2 separate regions of the Homo sapiens genome follow, and region 1 is linked to region 2. Evidence: promoter capture Hi-C in human tissues and cell types (Jung and others, 2019). All regions are on one chromosome and are shown on one strand. The core of a region is centred on a gene start or on the middle of the fragment in contact, and the rest is flanking DNA. Distances in the headings are between cores, read along the strand shown.

What was found. Contacts are between HindIII fragments. The study calls those that stand out against the background at their distance.
Region 1: a fragment that was not itself captured here is called in contact with the fragment with the promoter of NT5M in region 2 in 2 of the 25 tissues and cell types used here (bladder and dorsolateral prefrontal cortex).

The regions. Positions count from the first base shown.
Region 1 is chr17:17,622,384-17,627,161 of GRCh38, reverse strand. No RefSeq gene overlaps it. Among named protein-coding and RNA genes, the nearest start is that of PEMT, 33 kb to the right of the region's middle. RefSeq lists enhancers at 1-537, 538-1,443, 3,580-4,455, 4,456-4,778. The HindIII fragment of the contact is 8,811 bases long and covers 1-4,778 here.
Region 2 is chr17:17,301,331-17,306,044 of GRCh38, reverse strand. It overlaps NT5M (5',3'-nucleotidase, mitochondrial), which reads right to left and starts at 2,672. Exons shown (of 5, transcript NM_020201.4): 1 at 2,228-2,672. The coding sequence starts at 2,494. RefSeq lists silencers at 2,103-2,292, 2,423-2,522, 2,573-2,742. The HindIII fragment of the contact is 23,347 bases long and covers 1-4,714 here.

The sequences.
Region 1 (4,778 bases), core at 1,126-3,625, 320 kb before region 2:
GAGAAGCTGACGCTGGTGAGAGCATCCCAGCCCTTGTTCCTGGACGGGGGTGGGGGTGAGAACAGGGCTTACTGCAGGGACCCAAGCCAGGATGTGCGGGGGGCGGGCTCAGCAGGGAGGAGCCTGAGGAAGGGACCCCAGGGCCCAGCAAAGACCAAGGCTGGGAGGGCAGGAACAGTGGGGACTTTTCAGAGAACAGCAACTGCCACGCCGCCGCCAGCTTCTCCGGCAATGCCCTGGGACTGTAGTGGGATTATCATTTATAACTGACAGATGAGGAGACTGAGACCCAGACTCACAGAGTTAAAGGGACAAAACCAAAGACATGCGTTACCTGGCAGCCACCGGCTGGGTGAGGTCCTCTCCCTGTCCGGACCTCAGTTTCCCCATTTGCACCACAGGGGACCTGGACTGGATTCCTGGGGTCCTTTCAACTCCAAGGCTGCCCAGCTCACCCAGCTCAATGCGTTACACCTGCGAGGGGACCACGATCTGGCTTGGGTGGGGCCTTTCCTCCCGGGAGCACAGGCAGTTGCAGGGGAACTTCCCAGCTCCCGAAGCCTCCTCGCAGCCAAATGGGAAGTTGTTTCCCATGTCTAAATACCCAGTAGATGTGTCACTCTTGAGGGTTCACCCGTACCCCAGCCCTGACTGGCAATCCCCCGAATGGGGCATCCCTGTCCAATAGGACTCCCAGCCCCCGCCCGATCCCAGGATGAGAGGCGAAACTTGAGGCAGCCCACAGCATTGCTGCCATTGATTTGGGAGAACAAAAGATCTGAGGCTCTGGCGGTGGAAATGCAGGCAGAGTGCAAGATCACCTGCAGGGCCTCTCTGCCCTGCCGGAGTGGCCTTCAAATCATCACAGCGGGTGGCTTGGCAAAGGCGGGTGAGGGAGGTGGTGCGAGGCCTACGGAAGTGCTGGGGCCTCTGTGAAGCTGGGTGCTCCAGGCTTCCTGTCCTGTCTGAGAGAACCGGGAGGATGGCTCCTCTGCCTCCTGCAGCCCTCAAATCCCTGTTTCCTCATCTGCGCCAGAAAAGCACCATGGGGTAAGCCAGAGTGAAGAGGGAGGCAGGGCAGGGGTGGCACTGCCTCCCACCATCAAAGGCCACCTGCTTGGCGGCTGGACTTCTCTGGGTGATGAAAATATGACTGTTTATTATTATATCCTTTTTTTTTTTTTGCATTTTAGATATTGTTCTTAAAAAAAAAAGGAATAAAAGAATCAGTGAGACATGGTGGCCTAGGATGGGTATTTAGAGAAGGATTTGAAACCTGATTAGGGCCAGTGCAGTGGCTCACACCTGTAATCCCAGCACTTTGGGAGGCTGAGGCAGGTGGATCACCTGAGGTCAGGAGTTTGAGACCAGCCTGGCTAACATGATGAAACCCCGTCTACTAAAAATACAAAAAATTAGCCGGATGTTGTGGCAAGTGCCTGTAATCCCAGCTACTCGGGAGGCTGAGGCAGGAGAATCACTTGAACCCGGGAAGTGGAGGTTGCACTGAGCTGAGATCATCGCGCCATTGCACTCCAGCCTGGGCAACAAGAGTGGAAACTCCATCTCAAAAAAAAAAAGAAAAAAAATGAAACTTTGTTTGGAGTGTGTATGTGTGTGTGTGTGTGTGTGAATATGTGAGTGGGTGTAAGTTTCTCCCCTCATCTCCCTAAGGATGGGCCAGGGACTCTATACATGCCCCTCTGTCCCTTCCAGCAGCCCTGAGAGGTCAGCCTTCTAGTTCCCACTTAGCAGAGGAAAAAGCAGAGGCTGAGAGAGGTAAAGTGACTTGCCCAAAGTCCTACAGTCAGCCAGCCAGTGGCACCGCTGAGATTCAAACCCAGGTCCGGGGCTCTTGAGACCTGCTCCGTGGAGCTGCTGGAGAGAGGTCCTGTTTGCACAATCCCAGAGGGAGTCGTGCCCACTGCCGATGCCTGGTGTGTAGTGCACTGCCCCTGGGGACCAAGGTGGCAGCCCTAGAAGGCCTGTCCACTGGCCCCAAGGCCAAATAAAGTAGGGTGGTCTGCCTGGCCTAAGAGGAGCCAGGCCTTTCCCATGTGCATGACAGGGGAGGCGGCAGTGAGGGGAGGGTGGTGGCCTTAATCCTGGAGAGACCTCCCAGTGCCTGGAATATGTGAAGACAGCACGACATGGGTGGCCGTCTTGCGGCGAACCAGCTGCGTGTACCTTGTTGCTGACATTTCCCTTGCCAAGCTTTTCTTCTCATAAAGAAAACACAGGATGTGTAGTGACTCTGGCCGCTGTGTTTAAATGCCAGAGTTCACTTGACCTTCAGAGGCCACGAAAGCTGACATATTTCTCACAAACTTCCCTATCTCTTCTCAAGGGAGCTCCTTTACTTAGAAACACAGCAACTTCATGATGACCCTGACTGCCCGGCACCAGGCACCACTGCACAGATTGTATACTGCCTGACTTCAGGGAAGATGTCAGTCATGTCCAAGTCTGTATAAATATACTCCTTTTGGGTTGTGCAGTGTCCAACCTGTGCAACTGTGCATTTTGGCCCTGTGGCCCTAGAAACATTTCCACTAATTAGGCAGGTGAATGGGTTCCTTAAAGTTTTTTGTTTTGTCTTTTTTTTTTTTTTTTTTGGAGATGGAGTCTTGCTCTGCCACCCAGGCTGGAGTGCCGTGGCATGATCTCGGCTCACTGCAACCTCTGCCTCCAGGTTCAAGTGATTCATTCAGCTTCCCAAGTAGCTGGGACTATAGGCGCATGCCACCACACCTGGCTAATTTTTGTATTTTTAGTAGAGATGGGGGTTTCATCATGTTGGCCAGGCTGGTCTCGAACTCCTGACCTCAGGTGATCCCCCCGACCTCGGCCTCCCAAAGTGCTGGGATTATAGGCGGCGTGAGCCACCGCATCCGGCCTGGTTCCTTAAAGTTTTGAGTGAGCTGGTGTGCTCATCTTCTTGCTGATATACATCCTACTGAGCAGAAGAAATTGACCTGTTGTTCCCACCAAAAGAACCTGGAGGTGTATGACCCATGGCCCACCATCCTTGATGAGCACTGTGCCTGTCACTTGCCCCACCACCCACTCCGATGCTCACATTCCAGTGGGTGCAGGCTTGGCTTGTGCTAAAAGTTTGTGCAGCAGCACCTCCCCCGTACTCTCAATTCTTGAGTGGACTTTTGACTGATCCCCTGCCATGGCGCTGCCCCGCTCACAGTCTCCACCACCTCACATTGGCACCCCCATTGTCCCACTTGCTCAGGCCTGAAACCCGAGTCCTCCCCACTCCTTGCAATCCCTCATCCCCCCCTGGCCCAGTCGCTGCAAATCCTGGGGGCGATGCCTCCATGATCCCTCCAGATCGCCTCTTCTCACCATCCCGCTCCTACGGCCTAGCCCCCCAGCACGTCCCACCTAATGGTGCCTTAACCATGCCCAACTACGGGCCCTTCTCTACGAGAGGCTTTAAGAAATTAAATCAGGCCAAGCACAGTGGCTCATGCCTGTAATCCCAACACTTTGGGAGGCCCAGGCGGCCAGATGGCCTGAGGTCAGGAATTTGAGACCAGCCTGCTCAACATGGTGAAACCCTGTCTCTACTAAAAATACAAAAATTAGCCGGGTGTGGTGTCAAGTGTCTATAATCCCAGCTACTCCAGAGGTTGAGGCAGGAGGATCACTTGAACGTGAGAGGCGGAGGTTGCAGTGAGCAAGATCTCACCACTGCACTCCAGCCTGGGCGACAGAGTGAGACTGTGTCTCAAAAAAAAAAAAAAAAAAAAAAGGCTGGGCGCTGTGGCTCATGCCTGTAATCCCAGCACTTTGGGAAGCCGATGAGGGTGAATCACCTGAGGTCAGGAGTTCGAAAGTGAAACCCCGTCTCTACTAAAAATACAAAAATTAGCTGGGTGTCATGGCACACACCTGTAATCCCTGCTACTCGGGAGGCTGAGGCAGGAGAATCACTTGAACCCAGGAGGCAGAGGTTGCAGTGAGCCAAGATAGTGCCATTGCACTTCAGCCTGGGCGACAGAGTAAGACTCTGTCTCAAATAAATAAATAAATAAATAAAAAGGGAATAAATTAAATCAAAATAAGCCAGACACAAAAGGCCACAGATTGGATGATTTCATTTGCATGAAATGTCCAGGCCAGGCACAGTGGCTCATGCCTGTAATCCCAGCACTTTGGGAAGCTGAGGCGGGTGGATTGCTTGGGCACAGGAGCTCGAGACTAGCCTGGGCAACATGGCAAAGCCCTACTCTATCAAAAATACAAAAAAAATTAGCTGGGCATGGTGTCCTACACCTGTGGTCCCAGCTCCACCAGGAGGCATCTCTTGAGCCCAGGAGGTTAAGGCTGCAGTCAGCCTTGATTGTGGCACTGCACACCAGCCTGGGTGACAGAGCAAAACCCTGTCTCAAAAAAAAAAAAAAAAGTGGCCAGGCATGGTGGCTCACGCTTGTAATCCCAACACTTTGGGGGACCGAGGCAGGCGGATCACTTAAGGCCAAGAGTTCGAGACCAACCTGGCCAACATGGTGAAACCCCGTCTCTACTAAAAATACAAAAGTTAGCCAGATGTGGTAACAGGCACCTGTAATCCCAGCTACTTGGGAGGCTGAGGCATGAGAATCGCTTGAACCCAGGAGGCAGAGGTTGCAGTGAGCCGAGATCACGCCGCTGCACTCCAGCCTGGTTGACAGAGCAAGACTCTGTCTCAAACAAACAAACAAAAAAAGAAACAACAAAGAAATGTCAGAAACAGACAAATTCACGGATGCAATGCAGGGGGA
Region 2 (4,714 bases), core at 1,423-3,922:
AAGAGCTCTGCTTTTATCGGTTTTATATGTTGAGGTGCCAATAAGTACATTTTTAAAAAAAGGATTCTGCTGCTTTTAGAGTTGCAAAGCAAAAATGCAGACCCTCATTTTACATGTCAGAAAACTGAGGCTCAGAACGGGGAAGAGATCCACCTGATGTCACACAGCAAAACAGCAGCTGAGCTGGGAGAAGAACCCCCAACACCAACCCTCTCCTCCCCACTCCCCAACCCCCGCTGCCTTTCTCCTTCCCCTGTTCTGCTGCAGGGCCAGAATGCAGCACCTTTTCTAGGGTCAGGCAAGGGGAAAGTGACAACCAGAGGGGAGACACATCTCAGCCTATGAGCAGGAGCCTAAATCCCACGTGTGCAGTACAGGAAGTGCCTCTACCAGCTGTTCTGCACACTACAGAAAGACAGCCACCCTGTCACATGGACGGCCGGAGGATGCCCTGACAGCATACCAGCAACACTCTCAGGAACCACAGGGACTAGGCAAATGCGTGCTTATTACTGAAACACATTTGATCCTCACATCCCACATAGGGTACTGTGAAGACCAAAGGGAATACAGACAGAGCAGAATTTTGAAAAGTAGAAATGCCTACATACACATAAGGAGCCACGTGTGTGGGGGCGGGGGGGGGGGGGCGGTTGTTTTAACCACAGATACTGGGCCAGCTTGGGGTAGGCCCAGGGATGTCCACAGCAGCAAGCCGTGCCTCAGGAAGGGAAGTAGTGGAAGCCAGCAGATTACTCCCAAGGCACCCTCCTTACTGCCCCGTGCCTTTGCCTTGTGCTTGGAAACCAGTAACCCCACACGTACAGAGCCTACATATTTGCACAAAGAACTGGAAAAGCTGCTGCACTTTTCGGAGTTGGGGGTGGGCTTGGTTTCCACGTTAATACACTCCCGGGCGGATATATGGTGTCCAGACTCCCCATGCCGAGCGCTGCCTATAAATGAACACTCGCCACACACTGGAGCCTATTCCTGAGGCTGCAGAAAGTACCAGGGCATTTTCTCCAGTTTAAAGTTTATCATTAGGCATCCGCTGTAGAAGAGCTCAGCACACTGGGCTCTGTGAAAGTCACCTTCTGAAGTGCCTGGTGTTGATGGAGACAAACGGTACTTGGTTTCCTTTTTTAACACCTGTCCCTCAACAAACCACATTACTGATGAGGCATCTTTCTGATGTCAGAAGAAATGTCACTTGTTAGAGACAGTAGTACAGAGAACAGGACTGTGGAGTGGGGAGCACTAACTGTGCTTGGGAGGCAGACAGACTTGGGTTTGAGTCCTGACTGAGCCCCTGAGCAGCATGTGACTTGGGGCAAGTTTCCTCATCTGGAAAACAGAGATAATAATATCTACCCAACAAAAGAGAGGATGCAGTGAACTTGTGGCTAAAAAACGGGCTCTTGTAACTTCCTTCTCCTCTTTATCAAACCCTCCAGCAGCAACCCTAGGTGGCCAATCAAGGGATGCCAAAAAACACTCAGCCTCTTTAATTTTGTGCATACCAAAATCCCCTGTTCCTTTTGCAAAATACTTCAAATTTACCAACCAAGATCTGTGTGTAAACGTCCCTCCTTGGATCTTTCCCCTCTATCCATCCTGGACAGAACACCTCGGGAGTCGGATGGTAGGGGTTGAGCTCAGGTGTTCAGCAAGGCCAGCTCTGCAAGGGGATAAGACATGAGGTGGATCCCACCTCACCTGGACCACTGACTCACTGTGTGACCCCCAGAAAGTCACACAACCTCTCTGGGCCTCAAATACCCCTGGAAGCTATGCTTTCATGGACAACAGTAAAAAAGATGGGTAAAGACACCCATCAAAGTCCTGGGGACAAAGAAGTGGGAATGTGACTGCGGTCGGGGTGAAAGAGGACAACTTATAACGTTTATTTTTCTAAAAATTTAACAAACGACTTGAGGCCAAATATGCCACAAATTTTGAAGTCAGCTTTAAATGCAGAGTTAGGTATATTAACACTTTGTACTCTCCCGCATTTTCAGAAACCTTGGATGGCAGCCAACAGATCCTGAGCGCGGGGCCGCATCTTCCCGGTGCGCTGTGGCCCCTAGTCCCCCCCAGACCCTATTCTATCAGAGGGCCACCCCGAGGCTGGGGCGCTGACCGTCCAAGGTCACCGGCGCAGGGGCGGTGTCTGGGGCTCGGGGCGAGAAGGAGGCCCGGCGCGGGGCGGGGCGGGGACGCTCACGCTCAGCCCTGGCCGCAGGCGGCCGTACTGCTCCGACACCCAGAAGCCGCGCCGGTCCTCCAGCGCGATGAAGGGCTGGTCGGGAAAGCGCGCGCGGAACTTCCTGAGGAATCCGCCCTCGAAGTCAGCCAGCACGCCGTCCATGTCCACCAGCACCCGTAGGGCGCGGCCTCCCGCCAGGCCCAGCCCGCCCGCCGCCCCGCGCCGCCCCGCGGGAACCGCCGCGCTGCAGAGCCGCCGCGCACACCAGCCGCCCAGCCGGATCATGGCCCAGCGCGCTGGCCCGTCGTGGGCGCGGGGACCTGGGCCGCGCCGTGCTGCCGGAGCCGGCCAGACATTCCCGCCGCGGAGGAGAAGCCCCCAACGCTGGGGCGCGCGTGGAGCGCGGGACGGGGAGCGGGGCGGGGAGCGCGGGGTGCGGGCGCGCAAGTACCGGCCCCAGAGCGAGGCCGCGGCGCGCGCGGTCCCTAAAGGAACACGCGCCGGCGGAGGCGGAGCCCCGGGGCGGGGCTTCGAGGACGGACAGCGGTAAGCGCCGCGCGCCTCCAGAAGGTCCGCGCTCCCGCGCTGTCGATTTGCGTCTTCTCCGTGGACCCTGGGCCCGGGCTGCCTTCTCCCACTGCACAGACTACCATGGAGGAGCAGTGCAAACCGAGAAGCAGGCCTGTGTCGTTAGACATTTTTGAGCACTAACTGTGTCGAGTGTGAACCAAATAGACAAAGTTCCTGCCATCCTGGAACTTACGTTTTAGAAGGGGATCCAGACAACAGGATGGAGGAACAAAAACAGGGTGCACTCTGAAAGCCTCTCTGCTTTATTTACAGCAAATGTCTGCGGAGAGACTGATAGAACCAATATCTGCTAACATCATACAGCCTTAGTAAAACTGATGATTCTCAGGTAAATATATGAATAAATATTAAGTACCCCTGTATTGCTTTTTTTTTTTTTTTTTTTTGGAGACGGGGTCTTGCTCTGTTACCCAGGGTGGAAGCAGTGGCATGATCTCGGTTCCCTGCAGCCTTGAGTTTCTGGGCCCAAGGGATCGTCCTGCTTCTGCCTCCTGAGTAGCTGGGACCACAGGGGCCTGCCACCACACCCTGGTAATTTTTTTTTTTTTTTTTTTTTTTTTGAGACAGGAGTCTTCCTATGTTGGGCTCAAACGATCCTCCCACCTCAGCCTCCCAAAGTGCTGGGATTACAGGCGTGAGCCACCGCGCCCGGCCTCTTTTCAACTTTTAAGTACAGGGATACATGTGCAGATTTGTTATATAAATTGACTGTCTTGGGGGTTTAGTGTACAGATTATTATTACCCAGGTAATAAGCGTAGTTCCTGATAGGTAGTTTTTCCATCCTCACCCTCCTCCCACTCTCCACCCTCAAGTAGGTCACCGTGTCTGTTGTCCCCATCATTACGTCCATGTTTACTTAATGTTTAGTTCCCGCTTTTAAGTGAGAGCATGAGGTATTTAATTTTCTGTTCCTGTGTTTGCTTAGGATAATTGTCTCCAGCTCCATCCATATGGCTGCAAAAGACATGATCTTATTCTTTTTTTATGACTGTGAAGTATTCTATGGTATATATGTACCACATTCTCTCCCTTTTTTTTTTTTTTTTCTTGATAGGGAGTCTTGCTCTTGTTGCCCAGGCTGGAGTGCAGTGGCAGGATCTCGGCTCACTGCAACCTCCACCTCCCAGGTTCAAGCGATTCCCCTGCCTCAGCCTCCCAAGTGGCTGGGATTACAGGCGCCCACCACCACACCCAGCTTTTTTGCATTTTTAGTAGAGACAGGGTTTCACTATGTTAGCCAGGCTGATCTCCAACTCCTGACCTTGTGATCTGCCCGCCTCGGCCTCCCAAAGTGCCGGGGTTACAGGTGTGAGCCACCGCACCCGGCCGATTTTTGTATTTTTAGTAGAGACAGGGTTTCACCATGTTGGCCAGGCTGGCCTCAAACTCCTGACCTCAGGTGATCCGCCCCACCCCCCTCGGCCTCCCAAAGTGCTGGGATTAAAGGCGTGAGCCACTGCACCCAGCCTGTGTTACAGCTCTTTTAGCCCCACCATTTGGCAGGTCCCGAGTTCTTGTCCTGCATCCAGGAAGAATGGGGTAGGCAGACAAGTGGAGAGTGAGCAAGACGAAGAGGAGCTTTATTGAGCAACAGAATACTTCAGAAGAGACCTGCAGTGGGCAGCTCCTCTCCATAGCCAGGGTTTCCCCACAAGTGTTCAGCTTTCAGCAGAGAGGGTAGCTCCTCTCTGGTAGGCAGTTCATCCCAACAAGTGTCCAGCTCTCAGCAGAAAGGGTAGTTCCTCTCTGCAGCTGGTTTTCTCCCCATCTACCCGTCCTCTCTTTGAGTCTGGCTGAGTCCAGGGTTTTTTATGGACCTCAGAGGGGAAGAAGTGAGTGCTGATTGGTCCATGGGCGGCCATAGGTGGCCATGAGCAGGCCTGGGGAAAAGCACCACAAGTTCCCCGCTCTG